Linked DNA regions of Homo sapiens: region 1 is linked to region 2. The links are contacts of gene promoters, found by promoter capture Hi-C in human tissues and cell types (Jung and others, 2019). All regions are on one chromosome and are shown on one strand. Each heading gives the region's core, a stretch centred on a gene start or on the middle of the fragment in contact. The rest is flanking DNA. Distances are from core to core; before and after follow the strand shown.

The links. Contacts are between HindIII fragments. The study calls those that stand out against the background at their distance.
Region 1: a contact is called between a fragment that was not itself captured here and the fragment with the promoter of ATG2A in region 2, in 1 of the 25 tissues and cell types used here (lymphoblastoid cells).

The regions. Positions count from the first base shown.
Region 1 is chr11:65,349,025-65,352,372 of GRCh38, reverse strand. DPF2 (double PHD fingers 2) reads right to left here. Exons shown (of 11, transcript NM_006268.5): 11 at 1-690. The coding sequence ends at 614. Among named protein-coding and RNA genes, the nearest start is that of TIGD3, 4.1 kb to the left of the region's middle. The HindIII fragment of the contact is 5,512 bases long and covers 1-3,348 here.
Region 2 is chr11:64,915,563-64,920,150 of GRCh38, reverse strand. ATG2A (autophagy related 2A) reads left to right here and starts at 2,942. Exons shown (of 41, transcript NM_015104.3): 1 at 2,942-3,186. The coding sequence starts at 3,016. It also overlaps a transcript of PPP2R5B not described here. RefSeq lists an enhancer at 2,541-2,670 and a silencer at 2,721-3,030. The HindIII fragment of the contact is 28,686 bases long and covers 1-4,588 here.

The sequences.
Region 1 (3,348 bases), core at 842-3,341, 430 kb before region 2:
CCCCCTGGGGTGGGGTGGAATGGGACAGGGCAGAACCAGGAGGGTGACCGAGAACATCCTGACTCCAGAAAAGAACACTCTGTAGCAGGAACACAGGGCCGCAGAGAGCCACTCTGGAGGAAAGAGGTGAGGCTATGCGGCACAGGGGCATGAAAAGCTCCTTGTGGACGTGGCCTCAGCTTGCTCGCTCCCAGCTCCCTGGCCTGGCTTGCCTCTAGAGGACAGGAAAACTCTGGAGACCAGAGGGGAGGCAGAACACAGAGAAGTGAGCTGCTCTCCCACTCTTTCTAGGAGGACACTGTTTGAACCCTGTGATCACCAGGGGCTGGGCCCAAGGCAAGCAGAGTGAATGCACTTAATGGAGAGCAGAGAGAAACTGGGCCACACGCACGCCTAGGGGCAGTGTGTTGCTCCTTTCTCCCTGAGGGCCTGGGGCCAGAGGTGGTCAGAGCTGCCACCTCAGCTTGCAGCTGCCAAAGGCAGGCTGGCACAACCACCCCAAGGTTCTCTGGATTTGTGAAGGAGAGGAGGAAGAAGGGAAAGATGGGTATGAAATATGAAGTGGAGGAGAGAAACAGCCTTAGATATGTCGGGGAGCAGGTGGGTGGCCACATCAAGAGGAGTTCTGGTTCTGGTAGATGGAAGCTTTCTCTTTCAACAGGTCCAGACACAGGTGGCAGCTCCAACTTCCTGCAGAGAGGCAAAATGGGGTCAGGATGGGTCCCACACAATCCCCACCTGCTTGCAATTCCTCTGCTCTTGATACCCCATCTCTATAGCAGGATCAGCTACAGGTAGGACGAGGGATGCTCTGCAGCAGGAAAGTTCCATGGTTTCCTGAGCTGGGATAAACCTCTAAGTCTTCAAATATTATGAAATATCATCCTCTATGGAGATGAAAGAAATAATCATCTAGAGGACTTCAGAATACTGATGCCCAGGCCCTCTTGGCCCTATTAAATCAGAAGTTTTGGGAGTAGGAAGAGGGCCTGGGAAGACAGAAGTTTGTCAAGCACCTCAGTTTTAAGACTTGTGTAGTTTCACTAAAAAACACAAAATAATTGTCCCTTATATGAAAAACAATTGGGTCATTCCTTGTTTATTAATATTGACTATGGCTGAATTCTTCTAATTTTTTTTGAATAAAATTAGTCCTTAATGCCTTGAAATGATAAGCAAAATTATACCTATGCGCATTTGGACATTATTCTAGGGCTTTTATCAGCTCTTCAGAAACAGGTGACTCAAAAATGTAAGTCCTTTCTAACCCAAAGGTCAATACGGTTGGCAAAGTTTTCTGTAAAGAGCCAGAGTGTTAAATATTTTAGGGTGTGTGAGCCACATACAGTCTCATGCATTTTTTTTTTAACTCCCTTTATTTTTTTTTTTTCTGAGACAAGAGTTTCCGCTCTGTTGCTCAGGCTGGAGTACAGCAGTGTGATCTCAGCTTACTCTAACCTCTGCCTCCCAGATTCAAGCAATTCTCTTGCCTCAGCCTCTATAGTAGCTGAGATTACAAGCGCACAGCACCACGCCCAGCTAATTTCTCTATTTTTAGTAAAGATGGGGTTTTGCCATGCTGCCCAGGCTGGTCTTGAACCCCTGGGCTCAAGAGATCCCAAAGTGCTGGGATTACAGATGCGAGCCACAGTGCACAGCCAGTTTTTATATTTTTAAGGGGATTTTCTTCAGGCTAGATGCAGTGGTTCACACCTGTAATCCCAGCACTTTGGGAAGCTGAGGTGGGTGGATCACTTGAGCCCAGGAGTTCGAGACCAGCCTGGGCACCATGGCAAAACCCCGTCTCTACTAAAAATACAAAAATTAGCCGGGTGTGGTGGCATGCCTGTAGTCCCAGGTACTCAGGAGGCTGAGGTGGGAGGATTACCAGATTACCTGAGCCCGGGGAAGCAGAGGTTGCAGTGAGCTGAGATCATGCCACTCCACTCCAACATGGGCAACAGAACAAGACACTGTCTCAAAAAAAAAAAAAAAAAAGAAAGAAAGAAAAAGAAAAAGAGAAAAGAAAAGAAAACAAAACAGCTTGCAAGCTATTTAAGCTGGCTGTGGCTGGATGTGGTCCATAGGTTTTAGCTTGTAGCTTGCTGACCCTGACCTAGAACATCTGATACTTCTAGGGGTTGCCCCTCAGCTGCCTTAACACTACAGTGAGGACACTCGGGCCTGCAGCTCTCCACTACCTCGATGTCCCACAGAACTTTAATAGGAAAGCCATTCTGTAACATAGATCATCTGTTTGATGGTTTAAAAAAACAAAACAAAACAAAACATAAACATGCGACTTCTCCCCAAAGCAGATTCATAAACTGGGCCTGACAGAAGCTGAGTACTCCCCTACAGCTGCTAAAGGACTCTTAGACATTGTCAGGGGCCTCATTCTCTAGAGGGGTGACAGCAGTTTGACCGATATGTTACAAGTCAGCTTACATCACACAATGAAACACTTTCTCTTGCCTGTAATGCTGGCCCACATCCTTTGTGCACAGTAACAGCTCCTGGGCATTTGTGTTCTGAGTAAGCTACTGAATTTCTGTTGGCTTTTTTTTTTTTTTCTTTGAGATGGAGTCTCGCTCTGTCGCCCAGGCTGGAGTGCAGTGGTGCGATCTCGGTTCACTGCAAGCTCCGCTTCCCGGGTTCACGCCATTCTCCTGCCTCAGCCTCCTGAGTAGCTGGGACTACAGGCGCCCGCCACCACAGCCGGCTAATTTTTTTGTATTTTTAGTAGAGACGGGGTTTCACCGTGTTAGCCAGGATGGTCTCCATGTCCTGACCTCGTGATCCGCCCACCTCGGCCTCCCAAAGTGCTGGGATTACAGGCTTGAGCCACCGCGCCCAGCTGCTACTCAATTTCTGTACAGGAGGTGTTTATGTACAGAAATCCAGCTGGAAGGGGACTTGTGGAGATGCAACCAATTCTTGGTGCCACCACTGGTTTCAGTGAATAGCTTTAATAAATTTGGACCATTATTACAGTAAGTTATCGGAGAAGCAGACTGACCCATTCAGGCTCCAAAGTCAAGTCCCTTCCCAGTTCAGAAGGGGAAGGGATAGGAAATAAATGCTCAAATCTATCAAATTTCAAGAGTTGACTGCAGAAGTTTCACATCAGATAATCTACCACTTGAGTTTTCTGGACTGGTTGGAAGAAAATAAATCATTCCTTCTGGGTGCCTGATCTCGGCTCAGCATCTGCTTTCTTCTGGGCTGTTGATTTTCTGTTGTAAATGTAGCTGATAATGTGCAAACACTAAACCCTTTAAGTTGAAATGTTAGGAAGGCATTCTAAACTGAGCCAAGGCAAGGTGCTTTACTCCCTAATTTGGAAGA
Region 2 (4,588 bases), core at 1,693-4,192:
AGTGGTGTTTTTTCTTTTTTCTTTCCTTTTTTTGTTTTTGAGGTGGAGTCTTCTCTGTCACCCAGGCTGGAGTGCAGTGGTGCAATCTCAGCTCACGGCAACCTCTGCCCCCCGGGATCAAGTGACTCTGGCCACCTCAGCCTCCCAAAAATGCTGGGATTACACGTGTAAGCCACTGTTCCAAGCCTCTTTTTTCTTTTTATGATTTCTGAATCTTAATGCTTTTTCATTCATTCGCTCCACAGCATTTAGGCACGTAGCCTTGGTCTCCTCTCCCTTAAGAATGGGGATATTAATAGAACCTCCCTCATGAGCATATGGTGAACAGCAGAGCAGATGAGATCGTGCACGTAAAGTAACAAGCCCAAGGCCTAGGACATCACACAGGCTTAATTCATGGTGGCAATTATATTTACTATTAATTTTTTTTTTAGACAAGATCTCCGTCTGTCACCGAGGCCGGAGTGCAGTGGTGCATTCATAGCTTCACTGCAACTTCAAACTCCTGGGCTCAAATGACCAAAGGCACACACCACCACGCCCGGCTAATTTTTTGAAACATTTTTTTTTTTTTGTAGACACAGGGATTCAGCTATGTTGCCCAGGCTGGTCTCAAACTCCTGGGCTCAAGCGATCCTTCTGCCTCAGCCTCCCAAAGTGCTGGGATTACAGGAGTGAGCAACCCAACCCGGTATATTATTATTAATGTAATAATCAGTTGGTGAGCACAGTACTGCCCCCAGCCTGCCATGGAAGAAGGCAGAGCTCTAGATTCCTTCCACAAGCAGTTTCTTCTTTTTTTTTTTTTGAGACAGAATCTCGCTCTGTCAGCCAGGCTGGAGTGCAGTGGCACAAACTTGGCTCACCACAAGCTCCGCCTCCCAGGTTCACACCATTCTCCTGCCTCAGCCTCCCGAGTAGCTGGGACTACAGGCGCCCGCCATCACACTCTGCTAATTTTTTAAATATTTTTTAGTAGAGATGGGGTTTCACTGTGTTAGCCAGGGTGGTCTCGATTTCCTGACCTCATGATCCACCCGCCTTGGCCTCCCAAAGTGCTGGGATTACAGGCATGAGCCACCGTGCCTGGCCCATAAGCACTTTCTGAATGGCTGTCCTATCAGCCTGCCTCCCTGAATGGAGCCTGCTCCTTCCAGGTAATGAACTATCTCCACTTACTAACCCAACCCCAGTTACATAGGATAAAACTGAGGGTCACAAGAGGAGAAGAAACCACCCATGGGTGGGACTGGAATACAGGTCCCTGCCCGGTGGGCCAGGGCGGTTGCCCTTGCTTCAGGCTGAGTTTTGGCATTAGAATGTAAGAGTCCAGCTCCCAAGTAAGATTAAAATAGAAACACAGGCTAGGTGGGGTAGCTCACACCTGTAATCCCAGCTACTCAGGAATTCCTTGAACCCAGGAGCCAGAGGTTGCGTGAGAGGAGACTGCACCACTGCACTCCAGCCTGGGCAACAGAGCAAGACTCTGTCTCAAAAAAAATAAATAAAATAGAAACATAGGCCGGGCACGGTGGCTCGTGCCTGTAATCCCAACACTTTGGGAGGCCAAGGCAGGCTGATCACCTAAGGTCAGGAGTTCGAGACCAGCCTGCCCAACACGGTAATTAGCTGGGTGCGGTGGTGCATGCCTGTAATCCCAGCTACTCTGGGAGGCCAAGGCAGCAGAATCATTTGAACCCAGGAGGCAGAGGTTGCAGTGAGCCAAGATTGTGCCACTGCACTCCAGCCTAGGTGACAGAGAGAGTCTGTCTCAAAAAGAAAAGAAAAGAAACATAATTACCTATGGCTGTTCCTGAAGTCGCCCATGATGTAAGAGGTTTTGTGTGGCTGCCCCCTACAGAGCAGCGGTTGGCAAACTTTTTCTGTGAAGGGCCAGAAAATAAATATTTTAGGCTTTGCAGGCCTCTGTCTCAAGTACTGAATTCTGCTCTTGTAGCAAGAAAGCAGCCCGGGGCAGAACTTAAGCAAATGAGCAAGACTGTGTGACACTAAAACGTTATGTATAAACACTGGAATGTGAATTTCATATGATTTTTCACATGCCATGAAAAGTTCATTCTTCTTTTGATTTTTCCCCTAACCATTTAAAAGACATAAAAACCATACTTAGCTCAAAGGCCGTACAAAAACAATGCCCCCCTGCTTAAAGGAGGCAGAATCCATTCTTTGATTTTAGGACTAGAGATATGAAAAGCTATTATTATTTCAGAGAGGTGCCTAAGGCCTGACCGACGGCAGAGAGAAGGGAGGGTCAGTTAATCTCCCTCTGAGCATTCCGGGGTGAGGAGGGGAAAAAAGACCTTCCTTGGTGATGGATTCAGAGCCCTTATTTATTTTTGTTTGTTTTTGAGGCAGGGTCTTTCTCGTATCTTAATCTGTTTTCTTACCTGTAAAGCGGTGGCAATAATCCCTACCTTGAGCGATTATTAAGAGGGCTCAATGAGATAAAGGATGGTAAAAGATTTTGCAAAATGCGAATGTTTACTCACTTAATTGTTTCCACAGATGCGCGCTTAAGATCGCGCACTGAGTTTACTCCTCTGGGGAAGGCTTCTACGAAGTTTGATGGGACACTGTCCCTTTAAATCCTCCCCAACCACTTAAAGTGGTTGGACGAATCAGCACATGCGCATTCCTTTGAGGGGCCGGCACCTGGAGCAACAGCCTTCCCAGAGCCTGTAGAGGGGAGGTTAAAGGTCCTCCCACACAGTACTTTACGCAAGCGTAAATCATGATTGAGAGCCCTATATCATGCAGAGAGCCCAGTCCCTTTTTCGCGCCCGAAGGCTCCGCCCCGCGCAGCCAATCAGTAGGCCTCGCCCTTTGCAATAGCCAATGACAGTGAGCGTAGGGGGCGTGGCTGGGCGTCCGGAGGCGCGGCCTGGCGCCTAGAGAAGCGGCGGGGCGAGCCGGGGGCTCTAGTGAACAGCGGAGCCGGACGGGGATCGCCGGCGGGCGGCAAGCGGAGGCGGCCCAGGCCCGGCGGTCTCCGAGATGTCACGATGGCTGTGGCCATGGTCAAACTGTGTGAAAGAGCGGGTCTGCCGCTACTTGCTGCACCACTACTTAGGTCACTTCTTCCAAGAGCACCTCAGCCTGGACCAGCTCAGCCTCGATCTGTACAAGGGCAGCGTTGCCCTGCGAGACATCCACCTGGAAATCTGGGTGAGGAGCCAGGCCCGAGTCCAGGAAGGTGCGGAGGGTGGGAGCGCAGCGACCTGAGGCTCCCTGCGGCAGGATCGGGCTGGGGGATCAGGCACCGGGCGTAGAGAGGCCAGGGGAATCTTGCCCTCTCCAGGCGTCAGAGGCACCCCGGCTGGCCTCTTCAGTTCCTTACCAGAGCCAGAAACTGAGCGGGAAGGGGTTTCTGTCTCCACGGGAGGAGAAACTGAGGCTGGAGAGGGCAAGATCACCTGTCTGGAGAATGCAAGACAAACTCGTCGAGTTTGGGGGCTGAGTTAAGGAGGTTGGCTCTCGGGCTGAGGAGGGGCTGGGGAGGGAGCGTAGGAACTGAGCTGGGCCAGGGCAGTGACAGACTTGGGCCTGCGCAGCTGGTGGGGGAAGCTGGTAGGGGTCCGGAGCCCTGGCGAGGACACCTGTGGATCATGTGCCCTGACCTCTTGACCCCACGGTCCTGAGCCCGTAGGTGGGATCAACAAACCACCGGATGTGTATGTCAACAACCGCGTCAGTACGTCAGTACCAGTGTTGATCAACACCTCGTGTGCCTGGGTCGCTGCCTACTTCCTGCTTTTGGGAGAGTGGGATGGGCCAAGTGGGTGTCTAGGGAGGGACTGGATGGCCCCCACCTACATCTCCCACCGACCCCCCCGGCTCAGTGTCCCTGCCTGGAGGGAGGCCCTGGAGGAAAGGTGGGGAGATCTGGCTTCAAGCCGGGAGGAGGCCAAGGGAGATGCTAGGGAGGCCAAGAGGTGTAAGGTCAGAGGCTTGAGGCTGGGAACGGTGAGGAGCCCTGACTCACAGCTCAGCTGACCTGGGGAGCTTTGAAGGAGCCACCAATTAGAGGCGCGTCCTGGTCGATCCACCAGGTCCAGAGCAGCAGGGGTGGGCATGGAGGCAGGGACTTCTCAGTTTTGTGGCTGGACTCAGGGGGCTGCTAATCTGGGCAGAAGAGCTAGGCTTTGGGGGTAGGCCAGGCCCTGGTGAGCAAATGTGGGGTAGGATAATCGTGGGCCCTGAACTGGGGGCACCCCCCAGTGGCCTGCTGTCTGTGAATTCTGGTGTAGGAAGCCCTCTCTGACCTCTAACCTTAGCCTCAGCCTCTAAGGCCGTCTCTAGGCTGCCCCTTTTTTATTTTTATAGAGACAGGATTTCGCTATGTTGCCCAGGCTAGCCTTGAACCCCTGAAGGGATCCTCCCACCTCAGCCTCCCAAAGTGCTGAGATTATAGGCATGAACCACCATACCCAGCCCTAGGCTTCCCCTTTTTACTTTCAGCTCCAGAAAACGCCCCTACTCCTGTTCCCTGCCCTCTTGTTGGGGATTGAATTGGCTTCTCTAGGGCCCTGGTGGAATGCAGGCGCTTTCTTGATAACCAGCCCCTCCT